2 separate regions of the Homo sapiens genome follow, and region 1 is linked to region 2. Evidence: promoter capture Hi-C in human tissues and cell types (Jung and others, 2019). All regions are on one chromosome and are shown on one strand. The core of a region is centred on a gene start or on the middle of the fragment in contact, and the rest is flanking DNA. Distances in the headings are between cores, read along the strand shown.

Region 1 (4,575 bases), core at 1,312-3,811, 540 kb after region 2:
GGTGACCTTCAGTGCCTTGACTCCCTGGGTAACTGCCTGCCCCTTCTTCACTCCAGACAGGCCCTGCCCAGATCACTGGCTCATTCTCCCTATGACTGCAGAGTTAAGAACATCTCGGGTCTTGAGCAGCAGTGTGGTTAAGTGATCACATGTTTGGATGCGGAGGATTCATCTGTAGAGTCAGCTCCACTTAAACATGGAGACAAAACTGCCATCATCTGCTTATGCCTCTGGGTGTTTGCCTAGAAACTTTGCTTTGACCAGAATCTGGAAGTGTGAATGGGTTTGGAAACAGTGTTGTTGCTACCAGAGTGTGGCTGATGGGACAGGATAGTGTGCAGGGGGGTGAAATTACTAAGTTTAGTCCTGGATGTGATGTTTACTCATCTTATGACCTTGGACAAATCACTTTCTTATTCTAGTCCTCGAGGTTTTCTGTCTTGTTTTATTTATCTCTAATAATTTTTTAAAAAGTTATTTCATGTGGAAGGCAACTTTATGGCTATTACAGATCAAATCAAAAGTAAAACTGCTCTCAAAAGGGGAGAGGTTGAAGTGGTCCAGAGACCCCTGATTGAGAACCTCCCCTCAGATGTGCACACTAGGTGGCTCGAGGGGCATCTCCATCCCACTCCGAGGATCCTATCCCACCCCATCCTGCTGAACACAGCTGGAAGCCCTGGACCAGGTGATCTTTCAGCCTTTCTGGCTCTGACAGTTGTTGAGATTCTGAGTTAGCCCCTCTGTTGGGAACTGGAAGCAGTAGCTCCTGATCTGCGGTGCAGATTCTAACTCTGTTGGGATCTGGGTGCAGAGAGATAAGGGGGCAATGATGTGGAATGGCGGAGAGGATGAGGAGAAGACAGTGCATGCCTGGGGAAAGTCATTCCCAGGACTGCAGCCTTCCCTGATTCTATCTTGTGTACCTGACTGGGCTCTGCCCGGGACATACCCCCAGGGATCTGCCAGCCATCCTGCTCCAGGAGGCTTCCCTGCAAGGAACCCCAGACCTGTGACCACAGATGCAAGAGGTGTCTGCCGGCTAGGGCTCAAATCTCTTATTTCTGATTGCCTAATGTCCCTGTTGAAGATGTGAAGACAGATGTGATCCAGCATCCTTGGGCCACTTGGTCTGGTGGGAGAAATCACCTACAGGCTCTAATGGGGACTTGGGCAAGGGCCAGTCCAGTCCAGAAGAGTGTGCCCATCCCTCTGTCTGTAGGAGGCCAGGAAGAGCTCGGAGAGGAGCTGAGGTCTGAGCTGTGAATGAAGGCGTGGGTCCTAAGCCAGGCAAAGTGTGGAGAAACGGGGGAGTCAGGAGGGGACCCTCAGGCAGAAGGAATAGCACAGGCAGAGGCCTGGGGGGCTGAGAGAGCACAGGACCTCTTTGAGCATGTGATGTTATGATATCTCTATATCTGTCTCTGTCTCTGTATCATCATCTGCATCTGTATCACCTATCTAACCTATATATGGGTTTTCACCCCCTGTTCCCGATCAATAACTCCCACATCTCTTGTTAGAGTCTTTTGTTGTAATGGCGGCTGTGTTAGGCCTCAGGAAACAGAACCTCTCTCCTGCCCTCCTTTCACCTGCCCCAAGGCAGAATTCACTCTTCCCTGCCTTTCTGACTGTGGGTCTTAAGGTGCTCCCCTGAGAAGCCTCCATCCTATATACCCCGAGGGAAGGAACGCTGATGACATGAAGCTTTCATAAAAACCCAGGAGGATTGAGTTAGGAAAGCTTCCCAACATATGAGGTTCCTGGACGGTGATGCCCAGGGAGGGCATGGAGGCCCTGCACCCCTTTCCCCACACCTCACCCTCATGTCTCTCCATCAGTATCCTTTGCAAAATCCTTTATAATAAACTGGTAAATGTAAGTAAGTGTCTCCCTGAGTTCTGTGAGCCACTCCAGCAAATGAATCCAACCCAGTGAGGGAGTCATGGGAACCCCAACTCGAAACAGGTTGGCCAGGAGTTCCGGAAGCCTGGACTTGCGAGCAGGGAGGGGTGGGCAGTCTTGGCAATTGAGCCCCTAGCCTGTGGGATCTGATGCTACCTCTGAGTAGACAGCGTCAAAACTGGATTAGAGGACCCCAACTTGTGTCCACTGCTTGGTGTGTGTGGAAACACCCCCTGCCCCCACATTTAGTCTCAGGAATCTTCCTCTGCGTTGATGATTGTTCTTCTGGTGTGAGAGCAGAGGAAAAGCATGGGTAAAGGGAGTTTTTCGTATGCAGAGACAGAGTCTGTTTCCATCTGGAAGCTCACGCACCTGCAGCCAGGTCCAGGTGTTCCTCCCTGGAGCCCAGGCTGCAGGAGGAAAAGGCCCCTCTATGGAAGCCACCGGCTTAGCTTTAGTTAATGGCTGGATAATCCCCATTTAGCCAGAAATGATGTCAACCCATTATTAAAATGGTGAGAATCATACATATGACTTGTTCCTGGAATAAATAATCACATCAGACCCAATCCAAACATTTTGTTTTGCTGCTATAGGTATATTTCTAATGCAACAACTGGTTAACCTGCTGAAGGGAGTGCTTCAAATAGATTCTTCTAGTGCGTACTTGATCTGTGCTCCCAGAGGGCAAAGAAAGGGAAAGAGACCTTGGAGAATTCTCACAGAGACTTGCAAGCAAAAGCAGCTATTTCAGTCAGTGACTTCTCTTTTTATGAAAGAAACATTCCGTAAATTACAATTAGGGCCTGGCCAGAAAGAAGAGCTCCCTAAGAGAGAAACTTTCTCATACCTTTGCTGGGCTCATCTTCACGTCCCTGGATGAATCCCTGGATATCCAGATCTCACCTTGGGCACCTTTCTGGAGAGGATCAGGAGGCTGTCATTTGGTTCTTATTTCTAAAATAAATAAATAAATAAATAAATAAATAAATAATCAACATTCATAGCTCAGGCTGGGCAACAGCCTTCCCATCCTGACTGTGTCTCCACCACCTAACACATAGCAGTCTCTCTCCTTTCCCCTCTGCTCTGTGCCTGCCCAAATGCTTATTCCATTGAGACTTATGCCCCCTCACTCTGCCTGCATGGGAGCTGGCTTGGTGAGCAGACTCCTTCATGGACAGGAATATTCATGCCCATGAGCTGCATCACAGCCTCTGCAGCTCTCATCAGGGTTCCTCTCCACAAATCTCTGAGGATGTCCCAAAACCTGAGGTTGCCCTCACACACATTTGAACCAATGCAGCTGATTCTGTATCTGCTCTTTTTAAAAATATGAAAATATGTAAATATAGGTATGTAATTTCTTAACAGATTTACTATCCACTTTTAAGTCTTTTGGCAATAGGAGAGTTGTAATTTACCAATAGTCAGTTACAATAGTCATAAATTAAAATCCTAAATAGATCGCATGGTCTGGGATCAGGGATTTCTGACACTCCCGCTTGAGGAGGATCAGCAGGACATTTGATGGGGGCTGCAGGATGGTGGACTGTGGGCAGCAGGCTTGGAGTCAGAGCCTAAGTCCTACCTCTTTCTTTCCCTCGTGCTGAGCACAGCAGCCAGCACACGGTGGGCGCTTAGCAGCCATTTAGCAAGTGCATGATCAATGTGGCTTCTTTGAGAATTCAAGTGCCTATGTTGATCAAACAAGATGACGGGCTGACAAAAGTCCTGTCTTCGGGAAGGGTCATGCCCGAGATGGTGGCTGAGCATGGGGTGACTTCTAAAATAAGGCCCAGGGATGCGGAAGTCCTCTCCTGGCCAGGCCTGGGAAAGAGCAGGCACAATGGGAGTGATGGAGAAAAGGAAAGGGGCCAATTCTTCCACAGCAGTGGAGCTAGAGCCCTGTCCACAGTGCAGGGGAGAGCTTCACTGGCAGTCCTTCCTCCTGAAGAGGCCTGGTGGCTTTCTCCTTTGCCATCATCTTCCTGGCCTCCAGTGGATCTGGGAGGAAGTAGGGCATTCTCTCCATTCCCGGGGGTGGGGTCGGGGTGGGGAGGAGGCCTGGGGCTGCTGCTTTGCCTGGACTTGCCCTGATCAGAGTGCCAGCCTCCTGAAGGAAGCTCTGCCTGGGGGTCAAGGAGGGAGACCGGGAGCGTCCACCACTCTATATAAAGCAGGTCAGCTGCTTACGCATGCTGGATCACACTCAAAGCCACCAGTCGGCAAGCGTTTCTGTAAAGGGCCAGGCAGTAAATCATTTGAGTTTTATGAGCCTTATGGTTCCTGTTGCAGCTACTCTGTTCTGCTGTTTTAGTGCAAAAGCAGCCACAGACAATACATGAATGTATGGGTGTGGCTGTTTTCCAATAAAATTGTATTTGCAAAGTGTGCAATGGACTGGATTTGGCCCACCAGCTGCGGTTTGCTATTTCCTTCTGGAAACATCTGGAAGCTTACGTCTCTGACAAGATGACTTGAATTTTTTTTTTTTTTTTTTTTTTTTTTTTGTGATACAGAGTCTCGCTTTGTCACCCAGGCTGGAGTGCAGTGGCACGATCTTGGCTCACTGCAAGCTCTGCCTCCCAGGTTCACACCATTCTCCTGCCTCAGCCTCCCGAGTAGCTGGGACTACAGGTGCCCGCCACCACGCCCAGCTAATTTTTT
Region 2 (4,412 bases), core at 1,885-4,384:
CCATACTTTATATTGCTCACGTTTTTCAGTTCTTCCAATCTGATAGATATGAGATGATATCTCATGATTTTCATTTTCCTGATTACTAAAAAGGTTGAACATCTTTTTCATATGCTTATTGGTCATCCTGTTTTCTTCTTCTCTGAGGTATCAGTCTGTACTGGGCAGTATGAAAGAGCTGTTTATGTACTGTGGATAATCATCTTGTGTCAGCTACATATTAGTATTTTGCAAATATCTTCTCCCAGCCTGGTGGCCTGTCTTTTCACTCTAATCCAGAAGTACAAACAGGCTGGGCACAGAGGCTCATGCCTGTAATCCCAGCACTTTGGGAGGCTAAGGCAGGCAGATCACAAGGTCAGGAGTTCAAGACCAGCCTGGCCAACACAGCGAAACCCAATATGGTGAAACCCCATCTCTACTAAAAATACAAAAAGTAGCCAGGCGTGGTGGTGCACACCTGTAGGCCCAGCTACTCAGGAGGCTGATGCAGGAGAATCGCTTGAACCTGGGAGGTGGAGGCTGCAAGTGAACCAAGATCACACCACTGCACTCCAGGAATGTATCCCTTTTTTCCTTTATGCTATGTGCCTTTTGATTTTTGTTTAATGAACCCTTTCCTAACGAACCAGGAATTCTTAATGCTGTTCCACAAACTAGGTCTGTGGGTGGATTTCAGGGGATCTCTGATCCCCTGGAAGTCATATGCAAAATTCTGCATGGGTGCATGTGTGCGTTATTGTGGGATGAAAGACCACAGTTTCTACCAGTTTCTCAAAAAGGTCTGTGATATAAAAACAGATTAAGAATCACTGCTAAATAGTAAGGATTATCATGTAAGGTATAATTTAAAAATCATTTTAGTTCCGTTTTGTCATTCGTGATATCATGTATGGCAGGGAAGAATGAAGAATACTAAAGTAGCAAACATGAGAGAGCTCTGGAAAGGGGCAGTTAGAGCAAGAGGATAAGGATACTTACTATGAACAGCTCACATCTAGTGAGTGCTTATCATGTGTCAGATAGCATGCTGAGTGCTTTACACAATTACCACATTTAATCAAAAACTCCAGGACATAGACACTATTATCATCTCAATTTTATTTTATTATTTTTTTGAGACGGAGTTTCACTCTTGTTGCCCAGGCTGGAGTGCAATGGTGGGTAGGATCTTGGCTCACCACAACCTCTGCCTCCCAGGTTCAGGTGATCCTCCGGCCTTAGCCTCCCGAGTAGCTGGGATTACAGGCATGCGCCACCACATCCGGCTAATTTTTGTTTTTTAGTAGAGACGGGATTTTACCATGTTGGTAAGGCTGGTCTCGAACTCCTGGACCTCAGGTGATCCGCCCACCTCAGCCTCCCAAAGTGCTGGCATTACAGGCTTGAGCCACCGTGCCCGGCCCTATTGTCTCAATTTTATAGGCAAGCAACGGCTTGAGACAAACTCCCTAACTTGCTCAAGATCACATAACAGAGGAGTGTCACAGACAGATTTAAATCCAGATAGTCTGAACTCCTGTTACCAGAGCATCATGAGATATAAGTGTAAAGAACACAGTTACTGGCACATGGGAAATATGCAGTAAGTCATAGCTATTACAACTTAAAGGAGAAATATTTCAGAAAGGATTTTAGATAAGCAGTGGACATATGGAGAGCAGACGACTCAAGAAAAAACATGTGAGAAAAAGGAAAAATATGACCAGTTTTCCCTTACAGGCATTTCAGCATTTTCTTGCTAAACAGGCATTCTCCAGGGAAACAGCAGATGTTCAAGGGACTAAGGTAAAGAAGTTCAGGGACCTCTACAGTCCCTGAAAATATCACGTGGATCCTTGCTCTGTGAACTGTTCACTGAATGTGCCCAAAGCTGTCCCTTACTGACCCCACTTGGGGATGCTGTGTTTGATATGATGAGGTCTCTAACAGAGGATGTCCTTCTTGCTTCCCGTTTCCATGTAGATGGTAAGATCCAGTCCCTGTTCTAAAGTAAGCCCCAAATTCCGTTTCCTCATCTTGTGATCCCTGATATTCACAGTTGAACTAAATAAAAAGGCTGACTGGAGCAAAGGGATTCGATCTGGGATGCTTACCTGCTCCAATCTTTCAATGAGCTCTGCAGGAGTTAGGACCACTTCCTCACTACCCCCATCAGAGTCCTGTCCCAGGAAATCCACTTCTTCGGTCATCTTCTCTGAAACCAGGAACCTAATGAGAGGGAAAGAACCAATACTCTGCAATGCGTTTTCTAATTATCTGCAAGAACAGACATCTATCTGGAGAAAGGAAAGGTTTATTGAGGTTTCCTGGGGTTGTAGAGGCCCTTTAGCAAGTGGTGAGAGAACGCAGGGACTCTAGTTTTCCAGTGTCTGCCTCTTCCTCCAAGGCTTAGGTCAGGTATCCGTTTCTCAAACAAGCCTCCCCCTTACTTCTGTCCACCAAGAGCTGAGCACCCATCACACCATACAATCACTATTCATTTCTTTGACTTCCCAGTAGAGGTCTTGTTCCTCAGGGACGGGGTTCGTTTTAGTTCAAATACGAATCGCGCCTCTGCTCAGTGCCTGGCACTAAGCACTGGGGACGCAATGACGTGGGAAGCCCCTGCGCTCAGCACAGCGCTTGACTCCTAGCAAGCACTTAACATTATTAGGAGCTGGCCGGGCTCACGCCTGTAATCCCAGCACTTTGGGAAGCCGAGGCAGGAAGATACCTTGAGCCCAGGAGTTCGAGACCAGCCTGGGCAACATAGGGAGATCCTGTCTCTATAAAAACAAAAATTGTTAGGAAGATTAATCAATGCTAATTTCCCAGAGCCACAAGGGCCGGCGACATTAGACCAGTCGGCGATCCCAAAGGCCTAAGGAGGTGGATGGCGGGGACAAAGAAAGTCCCTGGGGTCGCAAGGAAACTGCGAACATCCCCCTCCCCTCCTCCCTCTCAGTGCCACCCACACAGGCCTGCCCTAGCCACAGAGGTCCCATTCGACGCTCACTCGGGGACCTGGGAGACAGCGAGGCACTCCACAGCAGCCGGCGGTAAGGACGGGGCGTTCGTGGGGACGCAGTCGGGGCACCAGGAAGCGGGAAGACAGAGGAACAAACTGCTCAAGGACTTGCCGGGACCAACTCAACCCTGCAACTTCTCAGCTCCCGCGCTACTCTCGCAAAGTTTCCGCCCAGGCACGACGTCATCGCGCAAGGGCGACGCTGACCAATCAAGGCCCGGGGGGAAGAGCGGGGCGGTCTCCTTGGGCCCGCCCACCCGGCGGGCGGGGACTGTCTTCGCGGCGGCCTGCAGTCCCAGCAACCCAAGGACTTGAGGCGGCGGGAGGCTGGTCCGGGTTGGCCCCGCCCACCTGGGGGCCGGCCGCTCCGCTGTGCGGTCCGGGTTGCACTACCCAAGAGCGTCGGGAGGGGGCGCCCGCCACCGCGGCCAAGGGGAGCGGCGGTGTCCGCCCCGGGGGGTCCCACCCAGAAGTATGCTGTTGAAAGCAGGCCGCTGCAGCCTCCTGGGCCGTCTCCACCCACAGCTCTCGTGGCTCTTTGGGTTCCTCCGTCTTTGCGGGGTTTCACCTGTGGTCAGTGTGGTCATTGCCTTCAGAATCTCCAGTATATTCCTTTTCATCTTTCTTGAGACAGGGTCTCGTTCTGGTGCCCAGGCTGGAGTGCAGTGGCACCACCACAGCTCACTGCAACCTCCGCCTCCCGGGCTCCAGCGATCCTCCCACCTCAGCCTCCGGAGTAGCTGGGACCACAGGCCAGCGCCACCACGCCCAGTTATTTTTTAATTAAAAAAAAAAAAAAAAAGAACTGTGGCGGGGTTGGGGGTGGGGAGGTTCTCCCTATGATGGCCAGGCTGGTCTCGAACTCAAGGATCCAAGCAATCCTCCCACCTCGGCCTCACAAAGTGGGTACTGGTTCTTGAAGCCTGGGATCGGACGACCAGCAGAAGCATCGCCTGGGAATCCGTGAAAATGCAGGTTCTCAGGCCCCACCCTGGCCCACCGAATCAGAAACTGGGGGTATTTCACCAGACCCAGGCCCTCCCGGTGACCCTGACACAGCTGAGGTTTGAGAATCACTGCTTTGGGGCCGGGCGCGGTGGCTCACGCCTGTAATCCCAGCACTTTGGGAGGCCGAGGTGGGCGGATCACGAGGTCAGGAGATCGAGACCATCCTGGCTAACATGGTGAAACCCCGTCTCTACTAAAAATACAAAAAAATTAGCCGGGCGTGGTGGCGGGCGCCTGTAGTCCCAGCTACTCGGGAGGCTGAGGCGGGAGAATGGCGTGAACCCGGGAGGCGGAGCCTGCAGTGAGCCAAGATGGCGTCACTGCACTCCAGCCTGGGAGACAGAGCCAGACTCCATCTCAAAAAAAAGAAAAAAAAAGAAAAAAGAAAAGAGAA

Evidence for each region. Contacts are between HindIII fragments. The study calls those that stand out against the background at their distance.
Region 1: a contact is called between a fragment that was not itself captured here and the fragment with the promoter of GINS4 in region 2, in 1 of the 25 tissues and cell types used here (small bowel).

The regions. Positions count from the first base shown.
Region 1 is chr8:40,984,145-40,988,719 of GRCh38, reverse strand. No RefSeq gene overlaps it. Among named protein-coding and RNA genes, the nearest start is that of ZMAT4, 89 kb to the right of the region's middle. The HindIII fragment of the contact is 4,213 bases long and covers 455-4,575 here.
Region 2 is chr8:41,527,983-41,532,394 of GRCh38, reverse strand. GINS4 (GINS complex subunit 4) reads right to left here and starts at 3,134. Exons shown (of 8, transcript NM_032336.3): 1 at 2,999-3,134; 2 at 2,097-2,211. The coding sequence starts at 2,192. RefSeq lists a silencer at 3,159-3,588. The HindIII fragment of the contact is 17,762 bases long and covers 1-4,412 here.